Linked DNA regions of Homo sapiens: regions 1 and 2 are each linked to region 3. The links are contacts of gene promoters, found by promoter capture Hi-C in human tissues and cell types (Jung and others, 2019). All regions are on one chromosome and are shown on one strand. The core of a region is centred on a gene start or on the middle of the fragment in contact, and the rest is flanking DNA. Distances in the headings are between cores, read along the strand shown.

What was found. Contacts are between HindIII fragments. The study calls those that stand out against the background at their distance.
Region 1: a contact is called between a fragment that was not itself captured here and the fragment with the promoter of TIMP4 in region 3, in 4 of the 25 tissues and cell types used here (IMR-90 fibroblasts, mesenchymal stem cells, neural progenitor cells and 1 more).
Region 2: a fragment that was not itself captured here is called in contact with the fragment with the promoter of TIMP4 in region 3 in 1 of the 25 tissues and cell types used here (liver).

The regions. Positions count from the first base shown.
Region 1 is chr3:12,342,685-12,347,136 of GRCh38, forward strand. The region is part of intron 2 of PPARG (peroxisome proliferator activated receptor gamma); the gene reads left to right. Among named protein-coding and RNA genes, the nearest start is that of PPARG, 56 kb to the left of the region's middle. RefSeq lists an enhancer at 1,980-3,179. The HindIII fragment of the contact is 6,605 bases long and covers 1-4,452 here.
Region 2 is chr3:12,306,054-12,310,668 of GRCh38, forward strand. The region is part of intron 1 of PPARG (peroxisome proliferator activated receptor gamma); the gene reads left to right. Among named protein-coding and RNA genes, the nearest start is that of PPARG, 19 kb to the left of the region's middle. RefSeq lists a silencer at 901-1,108. The HindIII fragment of the contact is 7,356 bases long and covers 1-4,615 here.
Region 3 is chr3:12,157,069-12,161,438 of GRCh38, forward strand. It overlaps TIMP4 (TIMP metallopeptidase inhibitor 4), which reads right to left and starts at 1,844. Exons shown (of 5, transcript NM_003256.4): 1 at 1,634-1,844; 2 at 317-414. The coding sequence starts at 1,772. All of the region lies in intron 5 of SYN2 (synapsin II), which reads left to right. The HindIII fragment of the contact is 15,405 bases long and covers 1-4,370 here.

The sequences.
Region 1 (4,452 bases), core at 798-3,297, 190 kb after region 3:
TCAACATTGGTTATATCTGGTAGTGGAAGTATAATCATTTTGTTTTTACCAGTCTGTATTTTCTAATTTTTAACAATGAACGCGGATTGGTTCTATAATAATGAAAGGTGGTTTTTTTTTTTTAAACAAAAAAACCCCTACCTTTTCAGATAGAAAAGCAGCAGTGTATTCTTTCCTTCAAGGAAAATGAAAATGTTTCCTTGGAGGAAAGAAGATATAAAGACTAGAAAACACTCTAGTATCTTTAAAAACCACCAAGCTTTCAAATACAAAGATTTAACATATGTAAACTGTATTGTACTTCATTTGAAATTCAGTATCTTTACTAAAGAGATTTCTTTTATCCTATCCTACACACGTACAGTATTATTTAATGATGTGCACACAGAACTCTGCCAGCCTGAAACAGTAGGTCTAAGACACGTTTGTTGTTTTTGGCTCCCCTGTGTTGATCTAAATCACTGCCTAGTAGCCCTTGGAAATTTCTATCCCAAAACGTCCCACAGGTGCCCAATACCATGGATTCTCATTCCCCAAGTTCATTCTCACTCTTCTCTCTTGGTTGAGTCTTGCCTTTCTTCACTCTGTTCCCTTTCCTTGTTCCTGCCATCCAAAGCTTCTCTGTCTTTCAGGCTCATCTCAGATTTCCTCTCTTTCCTGAAGGCTTTTTGGATTCCTTCCATCTCCATGCACAGTCAGAAGGGCTCTGTTCATCTCTGAATATCTTTCGCACTCCATTGCATCTGGTTTAAATCCCTTCTCTGCCTCTTATTAGCTATGTGATCTCAAAACTCAATTTCTTTATCTGTAAAATGGTGATAATAAATGACTTCGCAGGGTTGAGGGCCTCAAGTCAGTGGCGAGTACTGCAGTAGAGGCAGAATACATAGCTCAACAGAAATTACTCTAGTAATGGTCATGATTGTTTGCACTTCTCTCAAACCACCTACTCGTATATTAGAGTGCATTGTGCTTGTCTTATCCTCTTTACTAAAAGTAGGAAAATGGCTTGAGAATTGATGCTCAGTCTTATTTATATTATTCTATCCCTAGTTATGTGATACTTAACTGTATTGCTCGGTATTTAGCAGCCCATTATCTAATCATAACATCACCCTCATTCTTTCTGAGCTTGTTTCCTTTTTGTGAAATGGGGCTACCATTCAATCTCACCGAATTTTTTTTTTTTTTTTTGAGACAGAATCTTGCTCTATCACCCAGGCTGGAGTGCAGTGGGGCAAACTCGGCTCACTACAACCTCTGCCTCCCAAGTTCAAGTACTTATCGTGCCTCAGCCTCCTGAGTACCTGGGAATACAAGCATGTGCCATCACACCCAGCTCATTTTTGTATTTTTGGTAGAGACAGGGTTTCGCCATGTTGGCCAGGCTGGTCTCAAACTCCTGACCTCAGGTGATCCACCCACCTCGGCTTCCCAAAGTCCTGGGATTACAGGTGTGAGCCACCACGCCCAGCCAATCTCACAGAATTTTTATAAAGTCTAGACAAATTTTTATTTTAAAAGACTTAGCACAGCCCCTGACAGCGTAGGCACTCAATAAATGTGGAATCTGAATCTTACTTAAAGCTAGTTTATATTTTCAAGTCTTCTTACTTTTACTAATGCTGCTTTAAGATATATTCTATAAGTTCAAATGTAAAGTTCTAGATTGGGAAAGAATTTATAATGTGTCTAATAAAGATTGTTAGAGACAAACTTTTAGACTGAACCATCTACTATTAATGGACTGATGAATCTTACCGGAAAATAAACATAAAATATACTCTGTGTTGCCTGTGGTTTAATTGCCATCAAAATTAAGTTTATTATGTACTGATTTCACAGTTACATTTTATTTTCAGTCAAATATCTATTTGTTGGTGTGAAGAAAATATGTCTACTTCCGCTAAGTGAACTTTAAAAATTTGTACTTGCTTTTGAAGATTCCATACTCTATATACCGTCTCTTCCTGAAGCGTATTTATGTAGCTCCTGTTAACATAAGAGCGATAAGAGTGTTGCTTGATGACTGCTCTTATTGCTTTATTAAAGTGTCATGTAAGATTTAAATATTTGATTATAAGAATTCATAATATAATTTTGAAAGCCTACTCTGTTCCAGACGCTGATTTATTTAAATCATCTCTAATTCTCACAACTCCGAAAAGATAAGAAAACAGAGATGTGACAAGGCTTGAATGCAAACCCAGGTCTGTTTGACTCTTTGTTCATTTTGAATAAAGACAAATTACTCAAAGCTTTACTGCCAAAAACTATTATCTGGTTCCACATTGAAACCCTATTCAATAGTTGTTATTATTTTCTTCTTTTGCTTTGAATAACCTCCCAGCATTGTTGTGAGTTTCAAACGAAATAAAAACACTATACAGATCCAAGGTGTTTTTTTTTAGAGTATTGTTACCTCAAAGTAGAAATTTTCAAATAGTAATGTTATCATTTTCTTAAGAGCAAGGAACTTTGTCAATAGAAACAAAAACATCATACCAGAAGAACCCCAGAATGCTGGGATGACTCATGAAGAATCTGTGAATGAGGCAAGAGAACATTCGTCAGCAAAATGACTCCGTGAACTGATGTTCAAATATTATCAAATTTTAATTACCGAGTCATAATTGAGTACTTACTTTGTAGAGAGCACCATATCTAAACCCTGTGGTGAATGATGACATTTTCATAGGTAATTCCTCCACATTAAGTGATTCATCATAGAAAAATGCTTTCATGCTGATGACTTCCACCATGACTGTTGGCATTAAGGATCATTGACCTGAAGAACTGATTTGAACGTCTTACTGCATCATTTTAATGAGATAGAGCATCGTTTGGAGCTTTGGACTGGGAATCAAGAAACCTGGTTTCTAGCTCAAACTCTGCTGCTAATTTATCTAGGTCATGCTTTGGGCAAATCATTTCATTCCTCTGGAACCCATTTTCCTTATATCAAAAATTAAGAGTTGGAATATGCTAATCTCCCTCCTATTAAGTTTCGTGAGCCCGTGATTTCAACAGTACGTAAATTTCCTTTAGTACAGTCACAGAACTGGTAAGTGACACCAGCTGAAACTGAGTGCAGCTCCGCGGCTCTACGCTTGCTGTAGAACCTTTGTGAATTCCCACTGTGCTTCACCAGTGACAGGATGTGCTACCCAATAAATCTCCATATAACTGATCTTGAAAAATTCATTGATAAAATCTGAAAACTGAAAAAGATACATGTTTTAGAGGTTTAGGTTTCCCACAACATGAAAATGTGTCAGTTGATAATATAGTTCATGGTATTTTACTATGCTAGAAAACAGCTTACTAGAGAATTTCAGATATTACATGCAACGACAAGTTAACATAGTTTAGGTGGGACGTCTTTGGTTCAAAGTTACAGTAATTTCAAAAGTGTTTAGTTGATCCCTAGAAAGTGGTTAAACAGGTTAGTCTCTTTTTCAGGTATTAGAGGGAAGTTAACTTTTGAAGCTGGGCAGAAAAGGAAGTTTTCAGTTGGTTTTTTCCTTTTGAGACTTTTAATTTATCATCAGACACTATTTTTTCAGATGAAAGTGCCTTTTATACTGTCACCTAGGTATGAGTCAAGTATGAAAAGGAAATAGTAACTCAGGATCAGAACATGAATAAGTATGCAATATGGAGAATTTCCATTAAATTTTAAATAAATGAATTACAGTCATATTATTCAGTATCTCAACATTAAAACTCAAAAAGACCTTAAGGATTATTCTGTTTTGTGGAAAGGGCTTTTTCTGATTCTAGAGATGAGAAATGTGGACCCAAAGAGTTGACACAGTAGGTTTGTGGCTGAGCCAAGACAAAAACGTAAAACCTAGGCTTTCTGGCTCCAATGTCAGTGTTCTTTTCTACTGCTTCTGAGTTAAGAAGACCTTTTTTTTTTTGATACCAAAGATACATTTACTGGAGTTATTGGCTTCTTTTTTTTTAAGACAGGGTCTCACTCTGTCACCCAGGCTAGAGTGCAGTGATGCGATTACAGCTCACTGCAGCCTCGGTCTCCTGGGCTCAAGCATCCCTCCTGCCTCAGCCTCTCAAGTAGCTGACACTACAGGTACATGCCACCATGCCTGGCCAATTATTTTATTTTTTTATAGAGGCAGGGTCTCACTCTGTTGCCCAGGCTGGTCTCCAACTCCTGGGCTCAAGGGATCCTCTTGCCTTAGCCACCCAAAGTGCTGGGATTGCAGGTGTGAGCCATTGCACCTAGCAGCATTATTTTCCTTTAAATCAAAATAATATAATTGTTTAATATAATTATGTCCATAAAATATATTACTTTTGAAAATCTGAACAAAATTACAGTTTTTGGTTAAAGAAGAATGGATTTGCCTTTCAAAAAAATGATACACGAGAGACTGAGGCAGGAGAATTTCTTGAATCTGGGAGGTGGAGGTAGGTTGCAATGAGCCT
Region 2 (4,615 bases), core at 1,115-3,614, 150 kb after region 3:
GTACACCAGCAGTCCCCCACCTTTTTGGCACCAGGGACTGGTTTCATGGAAGACAGTTTTTCAACAGACTGGTGGCAGGTGGAAATGGTTTCAGGATGAAACTGTTCCACCTTAGATCATCAGGCATTAGTTAGATTCTCATAAGAAGCATGCAACATAGATCCCTCACATGCACAGTTCACAATAGGGTTTGCACTCCTTTGAGAATCTAAGGCTGCTACTGATCTGACAGGAGGCGGAGCTCAGGCAATAATGTTCGCTCGCCCACCACTCATCTCCTGCCACGTGGCCCAGTTCCTAACAGGCCATGGACTGCTACTGCTTCACGGCCTTGGGGTGGGGGACTCCTAATATACAGTATTAAAGTCAGATGAAGAAACAGGAACAGAGAGGTAAAATAACCTGCCAGGTGATAAAAACTAGGATTTGAACCCAGACAATCTGAACCCAGCCACCCTGTCATGCACAGGAGCCTACTTTGCAAGTATTTGGCCTTCCAGGGAATGAGATGTCCACATCCCATCACCACCGCCACCACTATTCCACATTTAACAATTAGACCTATACAGGTGTAACCATATTCACATGTAACAGTGGATTAAATTTAAACTTTTAGTTGTGTTAATTCACTGCAAATCAGCTTATGTGTCTTGTAAGTAGTAAGCAACTTGAAAGTACCTGTTGTTGCTTATGACAAGATAAATTAGATCACCAAATCTTTATATTTAGTAACTTCATCATCACTTAGAAATCAACCGCTGGGCCGGGCGCGGTGGCTCACGCCTGTAATCCCCCAGCACTTTGGGAGGCCGAGGCTGGTGGATCACGAGGTCAGGAGATCGAGACCATCCTGGCTAACACGGTGTAACCCCATCTCTACTAAAAATACAAAAAATTAGCCGGGCGTGGTGGTGGGCGCCTGTAGTCCCAGCCATTAGGGAGGCTGAGGCAGGAGAATGGCGTGAACCCGGGAGGCAGAGATTGCAGTGAGCCGAGATCGCGCCACTGCACTCCAGCCTGGGCGACAGTGCAAGACTCCGTCTCAAAAAAAAAAAAAAAAAAAATCAACCGCTGTTAGGAAATTCTTTTTTTTTTTTTGTCTCTCTTAAATTCCTCTTAATCTAAATAAAGACATTTTATTTTGTCTCAGGATACAGAGGTCAATTGAATATAGCAAATTTTGTCAGTGTTGTAAAAAATCTGGAGAGGAATGTAAACGGCTCATCTTGTGTCTGGCCTCTAATTGAATCAGTCAGCTATGGTGGGGTTAGGGGACAGATCCGTGTATTTACTTGCATAGGACAAAAATTAGTCATTTGTGAGTGTTCACATACTTCCACCTCTCCCAACCCACCAAAGAGAATTGTAATTTGACAGTACAATAATCCCTTCCCCTACTCTTAAAAAAGTTGATCTTACAAGGTCAGTCCTATGTTTTTATGAAAAAGAATTAGAGAATGAGTAGAAAGGAACTAGTCAAGAAAAGCAGAAGATTTGGGTTGATAGACATAAAGTGCTGGGAATGAGAGGAAGAGAGAGAGATCGTGAAATTCCTGGGCTGGGAATAAAGACTGTGTGTAGGTAGGACAGCCTTTGGTGAAGGAGACACTTTGGAGAGCATGGTGTGTGAAAACACTTAAAGGAAAATTAAAGGGAATTAAGAGGAAATTGAAGGGAAGGAGTATATGAGAAGGGTTGCTTTGTGGTTATAAGCTGAATTTTCTTTAATGTATTTTGAAAGACCCCGGTAAAGAAAGGAATTTCTTTTAATTTTGCAGAGAATGAGGAGTTGTCCAATTAGGTGTTGAATTGTTCTTCCTTGGAACTCTCAAGAGAGGAGTTGTGTTTAGAGATAGATTTGGGAGCTGTAAGCAAGTAGATGTGTTATGAGTCACAGTGCTGAGGGCAAGAATATAAAGAAGAGATGAAGGCCAAGAGGAAACTTAGAGAACACAAAATAGAAAAGCTCAGAAAGCAGGGGTACCAGGAAAAGGGACTAAAATAGTCATCATAAGGTAGGATAATAGGAGGCCGTGCACAGTGACTCACACCTGTAATCCCAGCACTTTGGGAGGCCAAGGCGGGTTAGAGATCAGCATGGACAACATAAGGAGATCTCGCCTCTACAAAAAAATGAAAAATTAGCCAGGTGTGATGGCGCACACATGTAGTCCCAGCTACTTGGGAGGCCGAGGTGAGAGCATCACTTGAGCCTGGGTGGTTGAGGCTACAGTGAACCATGATCACACCACTGTACTCTAACCTGGATGACAGAGCAAGACCCTGTCTCAAAAAAAAAAAAAAAAAAAAAAAAAAAGGGAGAAACTGATTTCAAGGAGCCAAGAAAAGAGACAGATTCAATAGTGGAGGATGGGCAAAATATCAAATGCTGCAGAGGCAGAGACCGTGGTGTGCTGGAGCCACATTGTTAAATTTTCACAATTTTATTGAGCCAATCGTTATGCATGCTATTATTAAAACTTAAATTGAATACAGTTAAACAAATTATATTAAAAATAAAAGTAATAAATACACAAAGCATACCACTTCCTTATTACTTTACATTGCTGAGATGATTCATGCCCATGGTATCTGAGTAGTGGAAATACACTGTAATATTTGTGCTGCTTTTAAATCAGTCATGGTGGGAGTATTTACACCACAAAAATTGGCAAACACTACCAATCAGGGCATTTTTCTCTGCAAAGAGAGCCAGTTAAATATTTACCAGCATGCCACTGAGAAAATAGAATTGAAGTCAAGAAAAGTCTAATGGATTTAGCAAGAAGGAGATGACATATACTTAAGTTTCAGTAGAAAGGTAGGTGACAAAAACCACAGTAAAGTGGGTTGAGGAGTGAAATAATAAAAAATTAAAAACATGTGTTCAAGTAAGTTTGAGAACCATTGAATTAAACCGAGAAGCAGATTGTTATTGTTGATGATGGTTTTGTTTTTTAAATTACAAGGTTTGCAGAGTACATACTATGCTAATGTACTTTATTAATCTCCAAAAATGAAGACCATATGCAAATTTATTTTATGGTAGAACCTTTTCTGTTGGAAAATCTTAGGGAACAAGTTATCTATAGAATACATTTTGGGAAATGCTGCTCTTGTATTTCACAATTAAGATGATACTGATTGTAAAGTTTGAGATTAATATTCTTGTTTTTAAAGTTTCATGCTTTTTAAAAGAAATTTTGTCAAGAATGGATGTTGAATTTTACTGAGTACTGTTTTTGTCGTTTTTGTAGTAATCATACGGTTTTTTGACCTAGTGCTGTGACACATTTTAATAGATTTTCAAATATTAAATCCTCTTTGCCTTTCTGAGATAAATGTAACTTGATTATGGTGGTTCATTATTTTAATAGAGGATTTAATTTGTTAATTAACATTTTATTTATTATTTAAAATCAATATTGATAAGTGGGACTGATATTTTTCTCTGTTGTCAGGTTTTAATATCAGTGTTATGACACTCCAGAAAAGTTAATTATGTCACTATATTTTTTCCTACTGAGAAACAGCTTATGTAGTAAGAAAATCATCTCTTCCTTGAAAGCTTTAAAAAATCAACTATAAAACTAATAGCTTTTGGAGGAAGTAATTCTTTGATAAGTTTTCAATTATTTCCATTGTTAATTATTTTTCTGTATCTTAAGTCAACTTCACCATTTATTTCATTTCAGACAAGTTAGTCTGAGTAAACTGCCCTTGGCCTGCCTTATTATTTACTTAGGTTCTGGTAAAAATCCCATCCCAGATGTAAAATCATTGTGTGAGTAGAGATGAACAGCCCCTGTCTAACGTGGGCTGTGTTTAAGTGTGAGGCAATTGTCTGCTGTCTTCACAGCCCAGTTCTCTGGCTTCTAGGGATGATGGGTAGGGTGTTTATAATCGAATGAATATAAACTAATCTTGAGTTAAATGACCAGATGGCAGAGGTGAAAGAACGGCAATCCTTGGTGTCTACTCCCCCCAGAATGGATCTTGTCTCTGCCCTACTGTGTTTCACATCTGGGGACGATTCCTTCTAAGATACAGTGCAGTTCTGAATGGGTTCAGAAGGAAGAGGACTGGTAGCAGGAGGGGGTCTGGGGGAAAGGTTACCTAAATCTGCCTGACTCTGACAGTAGTAAGAACCAGCCAAGTGTTCTGTTTGATCCGACACTTGGGGCTACACACTAAGAATAGATACCAGTTTCTAGAAATCTTTACTTTTTGCCCATCTACTTCTGAAGAAATACCTATGTATTTCAAAGGAAAATTGGCACAAGTATCAAGGAAAGCTGGTACAACTTAATCTTAACCTGGAATCAACTCCTTTAATTTTTACATACAGATTTGGTTCCGTTTTTTAGATTAAAATTTTTACCTTTGTTTTCACGTATTTGAGCCCTTTTTTTTTTTTTTTTTTTTTTTGAGACAGAGTCTCGCTCTGTCGCCCAGGCTGGAGTGCAGTGGCGGGATCTCGGCTCACTGCAAGCTCCGCCTCCTGGGTTCACGCCATTCTCCTGCCTCAGCCTCCCAAGTAGCTGGGACTACAGGCGCCCGCCACTACGCCCGGCTAATTTTTTGTATTTTTAGTAGAGACGGGGTTTCACCATTT
Region 3 (4,370 bases), core at 594-3,093:
CCCTACTGGGTTATTTTCTCTCTTAAAACAAAACAACAACAACAAAAAACACCTAAACCTTGGTTTATTCCAGTAGGTACCTGTAGTGGCACCATACACCAGCAGCTGTGGGACCAGATGGATGCTGAGGCCCTCCCTGGCAATATCCCTGGGATTCTATGGGCTCTGCCTCCAAATCTCATCCAGTTCCACTTCAGTATCTAGACCCAAGGATTACTGAGCCAGGCCACCTGAAAGCTACCAGCCCTCCCAGAACACAGACTCCACTTTCTCCATCAGCCTTAGGGGCTACACATCCCAGCCTGCCCCCATGTACCTTTATCTGTTTGATTTCATACCGGAGCATTTTTTCAGTGTCAGCAGGGTCTGCACTGGCCGGAACTACCTTCTCACTGGAGATTTTGGCCCGAATCACTGCATAGGAAGAGAAAAGAGGGAACCTTCAGCAGCTGGTGGGGGCAATACACCTGAGGTCTGGATGATCCAGGGTCCATGAAGAAGTCTATAGGGCAGTTCTTGGTTTTGGTGTGGCTGGGTTGTGAGCAACGTGATGTGTGAGAAGGGGGACCTGGAAACACCTCCCCTGCAGTCACTGGAAGTTCCAAACCCCTCAGGCTTATTAGGTCCTATAACCGCTAAGCTGTTTCTGCCTTTTGAACCAGTTAGTCTGGAGAGCTCTAGTTCTCCATAGCCGTTTGTGCAGTGGGGCACAGGGTAGGAGTCAGAGTAGAGAAGGGAGGAGGAGCCCCTTCAGGGCAGTCGGTGTGAAGTTTATCTATTGCTGTGGTCAAGGCCTCTCATCCCGCCTACAGTTGATATTAGTAAATGTTTATTGAATTCATAAATGTTCTGACCCTGCACTGAGGTATTGCATCTCTTGCCATTTGAGCATTAATAACCAAAAACTGTTGATGATGTTCTTCCTCTGTGCCTGGCCTTGCACTAGGCACTAGGCCCATAGATGTGATTAAGACAGGGTCCCCATCCTGCCGAGCTCTTGATCTAGTGGAGTGCACACGTGTAAAGAACAACAGCACAGCATAGTAGGAGCGCTAAGACGGTTAGAGATGCTGAGGCGGCACCAAGGAGCCCGGGAGCCTGCAGAGAAGGGGAGAGACCTAAGTTAGCCCTTGAAGGATGAGTAGGAGTCTGCCAGGAATTTAAGGGTGTGAGGGAGGGCATTCCAGGCAGAGGGAAGAGAAAGGACAGAACGTGTGTGTTGCCATAGGGGCTTGGTGGCAACCTCAGTTATAGGCCTGGACAGACACGGGTAGTTACAATGCAAGCCCTCTCCCCTCCCCTTTCTGTCCCCAGTCTAGTAGTTCAGAATAATCATCAGATAGCTCCGGTGACACCTTGTGTAATGACACTCCATAATTGCAGTATGGCCGGAGTGAGGGAGGTCGCTATGGAAGTCCCTGATGAAATCTTCATTTCCTTATGAATCAGTCAGGTTCTGGGCTTGCAAGGTTGCTATGGCGCCTGGTCCTTCTCCACCCATCAGCCTCAGCAAGAGACAACCGGTAAGAATTTGAGCTCCTCCCTTTTCCTCTGGACTCCTGGTGTACTGCTGGCCAGATACTAATCCCCCACAACCACCCCCTGCTGTGGACCTCGCGGACCTCGGACTCACCAAGTGCCGAGTGGCAGATGTGCTGCTGAGGGTGCGCCGGGGCGCAGCTGCATGCCTCACCCAGCCCCGGGGGCCGCAGCAACGCCAGCAGCCGCAGCAACAGCACCCAGCTTGGCGCGGGCCGAGGGCTCCCAGGCATGACACTGCAGATCCGCGACTGAGCCTGTGAGGTCTGGGGGACTGGACGGCCCCAGCAGGGCTCCTTCCCAAGGCCGTTGTGCCCCTCGCCCCAGGCTTTATGAGGTGGCCCTAAGGGCCAATCCCGCCCCGACGGGCTCCGCCTTCCTTTGGCTCTAGGCCACCCGCGGAGGCAGGACCCGAGGCTCTTCCGACCTGCATACTCAGTAAGATGCAGAGGGAAGCCTGGAAGGAGGCCCTGACCTCTGTTTCCCTGCCTAAGTCATGAAGCGATCTGGAAGCAGAGGGGAAGCACTGGGAGAGGGGATGGTGTCAAGGGCAGAAAGACGGAAAGAGCCACAAAGACAAATGCATGAGGACAGAAAAACTGAGGGCTGTGATTCAGGCAGAAAGAACAAGAGTGAGGAGAGGCACAGACAGAAAGAGTGAGACAGGCAGAGTCCCAGAGAGGCAGACAGAATTACAACAGGCAAAAGAGACAGTGACAGAGAAGGACGGACCCCTTGCTGAGCTGCACGCTGGGAATGAGACGAGCTACTCAGGGCTTCTTTCAGCTGCAGGAAGTGCTTTCAATGCCCTATTTATGAGGCTCCAAAGCAACAGCAAACAGTAATAGAACAGGACAGAGAAAGTTGGGGTGTGTGTGTCTTGGCTCTGTTGCCTGGGGGGTGGGGAGAGATGTCAAAGAAGCAGCCAGTGCTTTAGAAACCCTTTCTCACTCCCAGAGCCTCAGACTCTCCAGATAGCTGGAGACAGCGCTCTTGGTGTACAAAACACAAAGTGTCCCATCACTTAGGGCAAACCTTGGACCTCAAAGCCCTCTCGAGGCCCTAGACTACATTGATTTTTATTGCATGTCCCTTCTCACTGGAGACTCTGTCATGTTCTAGAAGGTGGGACAGCTTAGAAAACAAAGAAGCAGGCTGGGCGTGGTGGCTCACGCCTGTAATCTCAGCACTTTGGGAAGCCAAGGCGGGTTGATCACCTGAGGTCAGGAGTTCGAGATCACCCTAGCCATCATGATGAAACTCCGTCCCTACTAAAAATACAAAAGTTAGCCGGGCGTGGTGGCCTACACCTGTAGTCCCAGGTACTCAGGAGGCTGAGGCAAGAGAATGGCTTGAACCCAGGAGGCGGAGGTTGAAGTGAGCTGAGACTGTGCCACTGCACTCCAGTCTGGGCGACAGAGTGAGACTCCGTCTCAAAAAAAAAAAAAAAAAAAAAAAAGTAAAAGAAAAAACAAAGAAGCAGGGGACTTGGGGGTGACTGTGACCAGAGCCTTGTCTGCTGTTTGGGCACAGTGTTGCAAGCCTCCAAATCCCAAATCTCCATGGGATTATTGCTGTGGGATGTTTCCACATGGTGCTGGACTGGATAGTGGGAGGCTGGGTTCCAATTCTGACTGTCACTGTAGCTTTGTGACTTTTGCCTCTCTGGGCCTCAGTTTTTTCTTCATAAAGTAGAGTTGAACTACGTGATTTCTAAAGCCCTTTGAAGTTCTTCTTCCCATCCTTGGCTGGCCTCAACCAGGAATGCTGAGATCCTCAGGCCAGATACCCCCAGTATCTGTTCAAATCTTAGTTCCCATAGGAGTCTGACTTTTCATCAGGGTCAACATTATTTCCTTCAAAGGATACCTTTTCATTTTGATGGTGTTAGTGATATTTGAAAAGAAGGGAATTGAAAGAGAGCTGAGTCTGACTGAAAGATGAAATGCCCGGGTTAGCATCCAGGCTGGTTCTTCATACAATGTTCAGACCAAGATAGAGGCTGATGTACTATTTGAAGGGAGCTCAGAAAGCATCCCATCTGATCTCTTCATTGGACAGATGTGAAGGCTGAGGCCCAGTGAGATACAGTGACTTGTAGAAAGTCCGTGGCAGAAGAGGACTAGAGTACTCGTCTCCTGACATCTAGCCCAGTGCTCCTTCCACTCCACAATATTACTTCTTACATCACCATTTTGTAGCAGCTTGAAATCTTGCCCTTAGAGGATAATCCTTCTTTTAAGGTTTTGTTGCTCCTCTGTTAAAGTATGGCTACCTCAGTGTAGAGTTCGCTCCCCTAAGGATCTCTCTGCATTTATAAACATACTGAATTCTTCTACCGGCTCTCTTTCAAACCCCAAGCTGGGAAGAAATGGGCCTTCACATGCAAAGCCTTGTTTGGTGGTGAGATTGGGGTATTGGTGAGCAGTGAAGAGTGTGAAAGAGGGAGAAAACAACCAGGATCATTACAGGAAAGCTGGGCCTTTGAAGGTTGTAGGTACCAAGAGGGTACATGCTGACAGGGACATCAAGATGCCAAAGATGTGTTTTTAAAATAAAAATACAGGTTTATTAAAGTACATCTACATATAGTAAAGTTCACTCTTTCAGAGATACTTTCTTTTTTTAATTCTCTTTGTCTGAGGGCCAGTCCTGCCCAGGTTTTGTCTAATGCAGAGAAAATTGACAGTGCATTTTAAAGATGTAGGGTATACCAAATAAGAGTACAGGGTTCTTGTAGCACTGCCACTAATATGCTCTGTGACCCTGGGAACTCACTGTCATTCCATGGGTCTCAGTTTTTTAATCTGTAAAGCAAGTAGATTGGACTA